Linked DNA regions of Homo sapiens: regions 1 and 2 are each linked to region 3. The links are contacts of gene promoters, found by promoter capture Hi-C in blood cells and fetal thymus (Javierre and others, 2016). All regions are on one chromosome and are shown on one strand. The core of a region is centred on a gene start or on the middle of the fragment in contact, and the rest is flanking DNA. Distances in the headings are between cores, read along the strand shown. Region 1 overlaps LOC101929154 (a long non-coding RNA gene). Region 2 overlaps LOC101929154 (a long non-coding RNA gene). Region 3 holds the start of OTP (orthopedia homeobox).

Region 1 (3,464 bases), core at 916-3,415, 300 kb before region 3:
AAAGTCTTGTCACCAATATCGGTCAGAAAAGTGATAGATGCAGAGTGAGTGCAGTTTAGAGTGCTTTGAAGGCAGGGAGACCTTGAGTTTACTAAAAGATGTAGCAGCCACAGAACAAAATGAGGTGACTCTTGTACAATTCCTATAGGATGGGAGCGTTGAAGATATTTACTGAGTGCACCTATAACACATTTTCGTGCAAGCCTTTTAATGGAGGCTGTTTATTTTTACCGGGCTTGTTTAGTTAGGACCTAGGTTTTCTGATTCTTTGTTCTGTGCCACTTTCATAAACAGGTCAACCCATAGAGACAGAAAGAAGTCTATTACTGTTTTCAAGAATTGAGATGCCTAGTATAAAATTAGCCTCTCAAACAGGAGGCGTTTAAGACCTTTAGACATTTAAGACTTTTAGATTCATTGTAATGAAACTGTGAAACACCAAAGTCAAAAAGAAAATATTTAATGAGTTCAGAGAAAAGAAGATAGGTAACTTATAAAGGAACTACATTTAGACTTGCTGACTTCTTTATAGCAACAATAAAAATCATAAGAAAATTAATAATATAGTCAAAGTGCTCAGAAAAATAACTGTCAACCAAGAACTCTGCATTCAGCTAAGTTATCATACAATAGTGAGAGAAAAATGAAAATGTTTTTAGACAAACCCTGAGAGCATATTTTACCAATAGATCCTCAGTGAATAAGAAAATTGAATCCAGAAGGAAGAATTGAGATGAAAGAATAGGAAGCAGGGCTGGGCACAGTGGCTCACACCTGTAATCTCAGCACTTTGGGAGGCTGAGATGAGCCTGAGGTCAGGAGTTCGAGACCAGCCTGCCTAACATGGTGAAATATCGTTTCTACTAAAAATACAAAAAATTAGCCAGGCGTGGTGGTGCTCGCCTGTAATCCCAGCTATTCTGGAGGCTGAGGCAGGAGAATTGCTTGAACCTGGGAGGCGGAGGTTGCAGTGAGCTGAGATTGCACCATCGCACTCCAGCCTGGGCAACAAGAGCGAAACTCCATCTCAAAAAGAAAAAAAAAAAAAAGGAAGCAAATAAATATGTGAATGAGTCCAAAGAATAACTGACATAAAGCAACAGCAACAATAGTAATTTACTGGGGATTAAAAAAAAAAACTAAATTTAAAATATTGAACAGCAGGTATATGGAAAGCAGGAGGGGATTACTTGAAGTTAAAGTGTCCCTTTTTTTTTTTTTTTCTTGAGATGGAGCCTGGAGTGCAATGGCGCCATCTCATCTCACTGCAACCTCCACCTTTCGGGTATTTTGGGTTCAAGTGATTCTCCTACCTCAGCCTCCCGAGTAGCTGGGACTACAGGTCCCAGCTCACCCAGCTAATTTTTGTATTTTTAGTAGAGACAGGGTTCACCATGTTGGCCAGGCTGGTCTCAAACTCCTGACCTCCGGTGATACGCTCATCTCAGCCTCCCAAAGTGCTGGCATTCCAGGCGTGAGCCACGGCGCCTGGCCTGTAGGTAAAGGGTTCTAAGCTCCATGACTTGTTGAGGAGGCAGAATAGATAGTGATTAACTTTAGATTTTGGTAAGCACATGGGCCAAATTTTTAAGAATAATAACTATTCTTAAAGCTTGTTGAGATTTTGTTACATATTCATGTTATTCAAAATTTTTAAAAAATAACCTCTATAAATGCCTACTGATGCTGATACAACTTCCAAAACCAGGGCACTTGGGGAAGAGAAGGAGGGAGAGGGAAGGAAGGCAAAGAAACTTCAACCCATCTGCCAGAATGCAGGAAAGAAAAGAAGAGAGAGAGAAAAATAGGATAAAAGAGAGTGTAGAATAAGATGGTAGAAATAATTTCAAACATATTAGTAATATGTGTATGTAATTTGCCTAAACTTGCCAATTCAAAGAAATTATTAGACTGAATTTTAAAAATCTAGCTGTATTTTGCTTATAACAGACAAATCAAAATTATTAGGAAACAGTAAGACTAAAAGTAAAAGACTAGGGGAAAAAAGTTGGTAGCTTCATTATTACCAAACAAAATAGACTTCAAGGCAAAAAGTATTATTAGAGAAGACATATGGACACAGTGTGTGGAACCAGACATTTGAAAAGCTGTCGTATCATGTGAAAGAGAGATTCTACATCAAAAACACACTCACATGATTTTGTATGGCTCAAAAGGACAGAACAAAAGGTAGAAATTATAGAGGCAGGTATTGACGCAATGTGTTGGAAAGAGCTTTCTGACAATTAGCTCTCTGCAATGAAAGTTCTGTTTCTGAAGGTATTTGGGCTGTGGCTGTGGATGCATGAGCAGAGCTAGACAGATTGTGTCCAAATTTGTGCATTAGAATCACCTGGAGAGCTTTTTAAAAACATATTTCATGGCTTCTTTCCAGACTTAATGAGAAGATTCTACACCCTAGGGATCTGCTTTTGAAATGCACCCCAGGTGATTTTGATGTAGCTAGCTCAGAACTGATCCGTGGAATAGCATTTGGGAACGCTGGCCAGATGACTCCTAAAGATTCCAGTAGCTGTGATGTTTAGTAATTTAATAATGCCTTGCTGGACATTTACCTGTGAACTAGAGAGATTACTAGAAACTGGAGAGGTGACATCATGGTTTTCAGGGTACAGAATAATGGAGGCTAAGAATATCTGCAGTTTGTTGTAACTGGGTGAACAGCCCATGTGCTTTCTCCACCGTTCACAAGCTTTTCAGAGATGTTGGTAAAGATGATGGAAATTAACATTCTACTCAGAACAAATGGCCTAAGAGGTCCAACATGACTTACTGTTTACATCTCCGACACCCTCATTTTCATTATGGAGAGACTCTGTTACATGTCTAGTGGCCCGGAGCACTGTGTCTCAAACTTTTCCTGAGCACACGGATTACCTGAGAATCTTGGTAAAATGCAGATTCTGCTTCGGTTGAACTGGGGAGGGATATGCATCTCTAACAAAGCTTTCATTTCTTTTTTTTTTTTTTTTTAATTTCATTCCCTTCTATTCTAACAAAGCTTTCTATCTTCTCAATTTATCACTCAGTATTCAGGAACCTTCTTTTTCTTTAGACAAGATAAAGAGAGAAGTTCTCTGGTCTCCCAATGACCCTTTACCTCCTTATTCTAAATGATCATTTTGTCTTCCTTTTGCTGTGAACTGATAAGTAGAAGAGGCTGGAAACAGTGCTATGGGGATTGGGTTTTGCAAGAGATACGGGAGTCAGAACAAAATTTCAGAGCTGAGAATGGTGACATCTTAAGAGCTTAGACTTCTATTCCTACCCAGAGCAGGATAGAAGCCCTTCCTGGCCTGTCAAAAGACCGGCATTCTCCCCTCAGAATGAACTTCTTTGTTTCGTTTTGAAAGTTTCTGTTCTTTCATAAGTCACTTAATCTTCCTGAGGCTGTTTTTCCCCTGAGAAATGCTAATTAGATTTTCATGTGCTTTATAATTTAT
Region 2 (3,789 bases), core at 1,181-3,680, 320 kb before region 3:
AGTCCCAGAGATGGAATTAATGAATTAAGTAGAATAACATTTTTAAGGCCTTTGATATGTATTGCCAACCACTTTCCACACAGCTTAGGCCAATTTGTAGTGTAAGCTTATTTTAATCAGATTTGATGTACTTTGCCCACATGAAGAAAACGCTGTGGTTTCAGGTTTCCAAAGCACAGATCGCCTGTGATTGGCAATGATGTTCCTTTGTGGTTGCCCTGAGGAAGATGTGAGAAAGTGTTGTAGAGGCCTATTTGTCTGCTGTTAGGGAGTGCTAGTTCTTCTGGTTAATTCACATAAAGGCTTTTTTTTTCTTTCTTCTTTTTTTAGATTATGTGATCCTCAGAAATAGTATTTAATGTTTTAAAGGTTAATATTAATTGAAAAAGGAGAGAACTTAAATAATTGCCTATATAGTTTCTTTACCTTTGTATGTGTATATTTGTGGTAATGAGAAAAAACCGTGGAATTTATTACTAGAAAAATGGGTCTATGAAAGTATGTATGCTTTTTTGCCCACTCAACTTCCAGCTTTACTGGCTTTAAATATTTTGTCCTCAGTACCTCAGTCCTCTAAGGTGTTTGGCTGTGTGCAGAATGTCATATTCCTGTCCCCTCTGTTGATAAGGATGTGGCTTTGTGTCTGTGGATGCCTGTGTGTGCAGAGGCTGGGCTCTCTGAAGGCAGAAAGCAGTCACTGCCTCTGTGGCTGCTCCCTCGTGATCCCTGCATCCTACACACACTGGTTTCCCACCACTGGCTGTCTGGTGACAATGTGTCTACTGTGCTTGAAACTGTTTAAATCCAGGGTATCATTTGGACACTGTCAGTTACTCCAAGATTCAACAGTATGGGTATGCCTGCTTTAGACATGGCAGGAATCATGTAAAGGAAGGAAAGCAAGAAGGCAGGGTAGACACACAGCCCCATTCACATTTAAATGCAAGGCCAAGGATTGGGGGTTGTTTTCCGATGAATCTTTCAGTTTCTGCTAGTGTGTGGCTATAACCATTCTAAGTGGCAGTGCAGGGATCTTCTTTGCTTTCTGGCTTTCTAATTGGCAACTAAATCCTATTTCTGAAAAGCAAAAATAGATGTTGCAAACAGGTATCTTTCTTTGGGTTGCCTTGGTCACCTTTAGAGTGCCATTTCACAGGAAGAAGGAGAGAATGAAAGTTCTTTTGCTGAAGAGGAGTTTCCTTCTCAAAACTTCTCAGAACATTGACCATGACTGCTCATGGCTAATCCTGGCTCCTTTTCACTAAAGGGAAACACTGAGAAAAGTCTGAGAACTCAGGACTGGGGACAGGCTCTAGAGGGAACTAACCCACCTTCAGTGAGGCTTGCTTTTGTCCAGACGCTGCCTATTTAGTACATCAGTAACCTGATTTTATTCAAAATAGAGCATCTCACTATATTTCAAAGTGGTTTACAACTCTGTATAAAATAGAACATCTTTACTAGGGGATGGTGGAATATAAACGTAGAAACACAAATATTAATACTACCCTCACAATGCATGCCTTACAAAAGACATTCGCTAAGTTTTGTTATGTATAAAAACATATTTAGCTACCAACTTTACTGTCACTGTGGAAAATTGCACAAACCAATATATGTAAGTGAATAATTTTACATGTAGTTAGCATCTTTTCTGATTAAGAGAGTCTTTTAAAGAACATATTGATTATGCATCTTATGTATCCTATGTGGCTAAAGCAGCTCTGTGAATAGAGACCTGCCAGTTGTTTTGTTAAAATAACAGAGTGCAGCTGCGATTAAAAAAAAAAAAAAAATGAAAACAGCCTATCTGGAAGAGCTATTTTTAGTTTTAAAAGGTGGAAGAGGAGGGAATCAAGAGCTAATGTTTTAGTTTGCAAATATAAGAGTTTTGGGGAAGAATGTCAGGTCAGGCAAATGTGTGGGCCACAATGGAACGATGGTTACGTATTTGCTAAAATGTTTCCAGACTAGGACTTCCCAAGTGAGTGGCAGATATGCGTGGGAAAGTCACCCTCGAAACCAAAGAGGGGAGGATGCACACCAAAAGAGAATCTGTTTTTTTACATTGTAGTTGTAATGGGAACAATCACTGTTGCCAAATGTAAACTTCTTAGGTTTGTAAAACCCCAAATAACACCACTCTCCATAGATAAAAATGTATATTTGAAGGAAATAGTTTTACAATCGAACTAGAGATTGTCATTGCCTCTCAGAAACAAAACGGAATATTATCTGTCCAAGATAAAACACTCTTTGAAAGTGCTTTCCTGAATCGTGTTGACTCTTCAGTGTGTCAGTGGGCAGGTCCCGGCTGTGTTCGCAGCTTTGTGGTCTCCTCCGGGCCTCTGGGGGTGGCTTTGAATGGGACAGCTTCACAAAATCTGCATGAAAATTGGGAATTGTCAAAGTAATTTGCCATTTACTGACTTGCTCTCTATGCCTTTTGTGTTTTGATCAATAAAAACTTAAATCCTTTACCCAGTTTAGTAACAACCTATTCTAAAGCATTATACTCCCCCTAATGTTTTTCGAGCTCTGGTTGTACAGTTATCCATTTTCAATGATATTCATTTTAAAAGGTTAACAAACGAGAAACTAAACCAACCATACAAATAACAGCCTAAAGAACACTTTCCAAAATGTGTTGCTGTAGTGCCATTTCACATTTAATATTCATGCAGAGGAAAGCTAAAGGCCACCAAACCAGGTGGATAAAATAGTACTGCATTTTATGACTCATTCTTAAATGAAATCTCTTAAATATTGCTAATGAAGCCGGCTCCCCCGCCACAGCCTTGCCGGGCGCCCTTTCGAGCTGCTTCAGTTCCATTTCCCTGTCTAGCAATTTGCCCCAGGCCCCTATTAAATGAATTATCACGGCCCCTAAATCATCTCTGCGGGGGTTTCCTCTAATCCCATCAAGACACTTACACTCCCTTTCTTCCCTCCTGGTGACATAATGAATGATTATTTCATGGGGAGCCGTTAAAGAGGCCCCTCTGGAAGAGGGGAATGCGCGCTGCCCGGGGCGGAGGCGCGGGGCTGGGCCACGGGGAGGCCGGGTGGGCACCAGCGCCGCCTCGGGCTGACGGGGACAAAGAGGCCACGCCGCCACCAACTGCCCTCCCGGCCGCCCGAGGTGGGGGTTCCCGCGAGCGGCGGGCCGAGAGCCTCCCGCTCCAGGCCTCCCCGTGCGCCCGGCCTGGGTAGCGACTCCGGGAGCCCAGGAACGCTGGGCAAGGAGAGAGAATATAAATGTTTTCCTTAACCAGAGGAAACACAGCACTCACAAACCACTTGCGGAATAGATTAAGCTAATTTATTAAACACAGTTTGCCTGGTGACTGAGCTGAGCTGAGTAATGATTTACAATTAAAAAAAAACATTAATAAGAGAAAGTCAGGGGCCACCGTGGCCCTAATCATGGGGCCATGGCAGCTCCGATGGGGCTGGGGCGCGCGTCCCGGCGCTGGGTTTGGGACCAAGGGTGGCCTTAGGCCTGCGGCATCGGTGAAACTTCGCAGCCGTTGCGGAGCCGAGGCCCCCAGCTCCGGGGAGATGGCGTCCAGGAGAAGAGAGTTGGGCCCTGGGCGGGGAGCCATCTCCAGGGAATCAGGCAGAGGGACCCTCTTCCCCAGAGGACGGGGTGGTTTGGTTGGGGGGGTGTGTGCGTGTGTGTGTTTTACGTGTTGTTTCTGAGGCTCTCAGACCTCCCTTCGCATACCCGTGCTGGGTCTTCTGACAGTGAAGTAACATAAAACAGTTTCCAGGAAATTTTGGAAATTG
Region 3 (3,540 bases), core at 608-3,107:
GACACGCCGCGAGCCTGAGTCCACGACCCCGGCGCCCAGTCCCACATAGGCCGCGTTGGTAGCAGCTGCAGCAGCCGCTGAAACCCAGTCCGGCCCGGAGCTTCCCGGGAAGCGGTCTCCGCAGCTCAGAAGAAACTGGTGTGGCCAATACCCTGCATTCACACGTGTGTGCATATGTGTGCGCGCGCACGTGTGTGTGCAGGAGAGGAGGCGAACGGGCTGCAGGAGGGAAGGAGGAAACAAAACTGCCCGAGAGTTCGCTTTGCCGCCTCCTTTGTCTCCTTGCTCGGTCCCTGTCACACATACAGCTGAGGACACACACACACACACACACACACACACACACACACACAATTCCTCTCGCATCTGCTCTCAGCCAGCATTTTCAATGTTTTGTCTAAGTCAATTGGACGGCGAACAAAAAAAGCCATTTGCTCAGTATTATTTAAAACAGACTTCATTGGGCCACCCTTTTGTGGAAGGTTTATTTGCACTAAATGAATAATCTTAATTGCATCACTCTCGAATTAAAAATCAATGTTAATCAAGTTGGGAGTAGTAAATATCAGTTTTCATTGTGACTGGGTAGAGGGCATTTTTCTTGTGTTGCAAATAAAAATACAAGTCAAATAACTTTAAAAGGGCATTATGTTCTGCTACAAATACAATTGAAACGGATTGTTTAGGAGCAGATCAGAAATGGTACAGAATTTTGCACTTAATTTCCTCAGTTATCATTTACAATAAGAACCTCTAGGCTTGACAGCCAAGTCTAAACAGTAGTAAATTAGTACAAATTTATACTGATTTTACTCTAATAATCGTAATAAAAGCTTATAGATTTGGCACTAATTACATAAATGCCTAATGATCTTGAAAATTACTCTGGTTAGAAATATATTACTAATCTAAACTTTGTTGTTGGCTGGCTCTGAAAAATCAGAACATTAGAAATGGTTCGCTTCACTTGTGCAAAGCACTTTAAATTGTTCAAGTAGTTTAACATATTCAAGAGGAAAATAAAGAGCATTTAACTTTATTTACAGCCTTAAGTGGAGTTGGGAGCCGAGCTGAACTTAGAAACTTTGACCAAAAGAGCGAGTTAGGGGCGAGGATGCGGGCGTGGGCCAAGCGGAAGAGCAGGAGCCGGGAAGAAGCCCGGTGAGAAGAGTGCAGAGCGCTCGAACCCACACTCCGCGAGGGTCCCCAAAGCAGACAGCGGGCGCTGGCGGTGCCAGGGAAGCCGACTCCTCTTTGCGCTCTAGGCCCACTGTGGGGTTGGGGCTCGTATAGACCCCAGGGCACAGCCAGGGCGCCTGGACCCTAGGCGCAGGCCTACTGAGCCGCGGCGAAGTCCAGGCGTTGTCTGAAGGCCGCGGTGTGCCCTCGTCGCGCCCTGGGCTGGCGGGCCAATATGAGCGGCAGGCCCAGAGAGCGCAGGTGGGGGCGACCCTCAGGTCACGCCAGGGTCATGGCCCGCTCTGACCCCTGCTCTGCCCCTGCCCTAGGAAGATGTTAGCTCAGAGGCACAGAGCTACGCCTTCGAAGCGCGCAGCGCCGGCCAAGGGGAAGGAAAGGGGAGCCTGGAGAAAATCGCAGGGAAGAACTAGAGGGAGCCGGGCCCAGAAGCTCAGGGCGAGGCCGAGGCGGCTGAGGCTGCTTTAGCTCCTGCTCCGGGCTGGAGCTGCCAGGGCTGCCGCCGCCGCCTCCTTCAGGCGGGCGCAGGCGAGCGGGCGGGCGGAGTGGGGGACTCTCCGGGCGCTGACATTTGCAGGCTGCCCTCCTGATTGGTCCCCTCGCCGAGCTGCTCACGGGTTCATTCAACTGTTAAGCACCTCCCCGTCTCTCTAAAGGACATTATAATGCAAGAAGCCCCCTTTTTAACCACAAACCGAATTTTCTTTCATTTAGGTGATCTATATATATCTATATCGTATAGCTTATAGCTTATATCTATTTTAAATAACTTAAAGCCGCTAAAATTTGGGGGGGAACAGCTTTCGCCCTGGAGCGGTGCGCGATGCTGTCTCATGCCGACCTCCTGGACGCCAGGCTAGGTGAGTGCGCGCCTCTCGCCCGGGCAGCCAGGAGAAGCCGGGGCAGGAAATTGTCAATTTGTTCCTTATTTTACCTTAATGCGACCTAAATGGACTAATTTCTTTAAAAGTAATTGTGCTGCATTAAAGTTTAATTTGATTTAACATCGCCTTTAAAAAAAAATCTATGGAATATGTAGATCCAAGAAAGGAGTTGGGGAATGTTGTTACTTTTTGTTTTTCTTATTTTTCTCTTCCCCCCTCCCCCGCCTTTTTTTTTTTTTCGAAAGGCGATATACCCCGTGATAATTTGTTAGGAGGTGTTTCTCTCTCTTTTTTCCCTCTCCTGTTTGTTTTGATTTGGGATTTCTTTCTCCTTCCCTCCCCCCGTTTCTCTCTCCCCACCATCTTCTTCTCTCCTCCTTTTCTAAGTGTGGTGTAATTTGTAAAAAATCTGGCATAAAGGAGAAGCTGCTGCCATCAAGGCGGATTTGCTAAGTGTGCTGGTTGAGAAGGAGAGAAGCCAAATTCAACCTCACAGTCATCCCCCCCTCTTCTGCAAGGGACTCAGCGTTGCCAATGGCTGTGAGGAATGCGCCTTTTATTTCTCTGGAAAGAAAAGTTGAAATCTCTAAAGTTTGATTCACGGTTGTCCATAGAGTTCACTCGAGTTTCCTTAATGCTATCTGGGTTGCTGAGCTCTGGGTTTCCGGATTGGGAATCTTCGGTGATGGATGTGACTCCATTTTCCAAACACTTTCTCTGATTTGAGGGGGAGGCGGAGCTGATTTGGGTTGATTTCGGGGGGTGAAAGCTTGGAGGCTTATTCATCTTCCGAAAGTAAGAGGGAATCGGCTGAGGGCCGGAGGTACAGTTCGTCAGGCTGCCGAAGCGCAGGTGCCGCAGCAACCGAGGAATTGTTTAATTTTCTTTCTGCCCCCCGCACCCCTGTGTCCAAAGATTTGCTCTCGATTTCCTGGGGCGCCTGGGGTACGGTTTATGGAAGGGATTCAGAGGCATGTTTTATTGCCGGGACTGGGAGTGTTTTATTGTGGGAGAGACGAAAGCTTGTGCTGTTTACTACGGGAGCCGGCTGCGGCGAGGGCAAGGGGCCGGGAGATATTATTCCAACCCGGCTGTCCAAATTCTGGGGAACCCAGCTGAATACCCTGGGAGTTTCTTCCTTAGGACAAGCGCGGGTGCGGAGGGGGCCGAGGACGGGTTGAAGGAAGGCTGCGCGGGGAAGACAGCCCCTCCTGGCATCGCCAAGAAAGTAGTGACCGCGATCCCCTTGCCTCCTCAGGTATGAAAGATGCCGCCGAGCTTCTGGGCCACCGGGAGGCGGTGAAGTGTAGGCTGGGCGTGGGGGGCTCCGACCCCGGGGGCCATCCGGGGGACCTGGCGCCCAACTCTGACCCAGTGGAGGGAGCCACTCTGCTGCCCGGGGAGGACATCACCACAGTGGGCTCTACTCCGGCCTCGCTGGCGGTGAGCGCCAAAGACC

Evidence for each region. The method cuts DNA at HindIII sites, captures the fragments that hold promoters and counts their contacts. A CHiCAGO score of 5 or more calls a contact.
Region 1: a contact is called between a fragment that was not itself captured here and the fragment with the promoter of OTP in region 3, in 1 of 17 cell types (M2 macrophages). The highest score is 5.1, in M2 macrophages.
Region 2: a fragment that was not itself captured here is called in contact with the fragment with the promoter of OTP in region 3 in 4 of 17 cell types (naive B cells, total B cells, M2 macrophages and 1 more); the score reaches 6.2 in naive B cells.

Annotation. Positions count from the first base shown.
Region 1 is chr5:77,937,577-77,941,040 of GRCh38, reverse strand. All of the region lies in intron 1 of LOC101929154 (a long non-coding RNA gene), which reads right to left. Among named protein-coding and RNA genes, the nearest start is that of TBCA, 160 kb to the right of the region's middle. The HindIII fragment of the contact is 1,101 bases long and covers 1,615-2,715 here.
Region 2 is chr5:77,957,455-77,961,243 of GRCh38, reverse strand. It overlaps LOC101929154 (a long non-coding RNA gene), which reads right to left. Exons shown (of 2, transcript NR_105012.1): 2 at 2,148-2,384. Among named protein-coding and RNA genes, the nearest start is that of TBCA, 180 kb to the right of the region's middle. RefSeq lists enhancers at 1,983-2,493, 2,494-3,004, 3,516-3,789. The HindIII fragment of the contact is 4,643 bases long and covers 109-3,789 here.
Region 3 is chr5:77,637,030-77,640,569 of GRCh38, reverse strand. OTP (orthopedia homeobox) reads left to right here and starts at 1,857. Exons shown (of 3, transcript NM_032109.3): 1 at 1,857-2,057; 2 at 3,340-3,540. The coding sequence starts at 2,021. RefSeq lists enhancers at 760-1,314, 1,315-1,871. The HindIII fragment of the contact is 2,017 bases long and covers 836-2,852 here.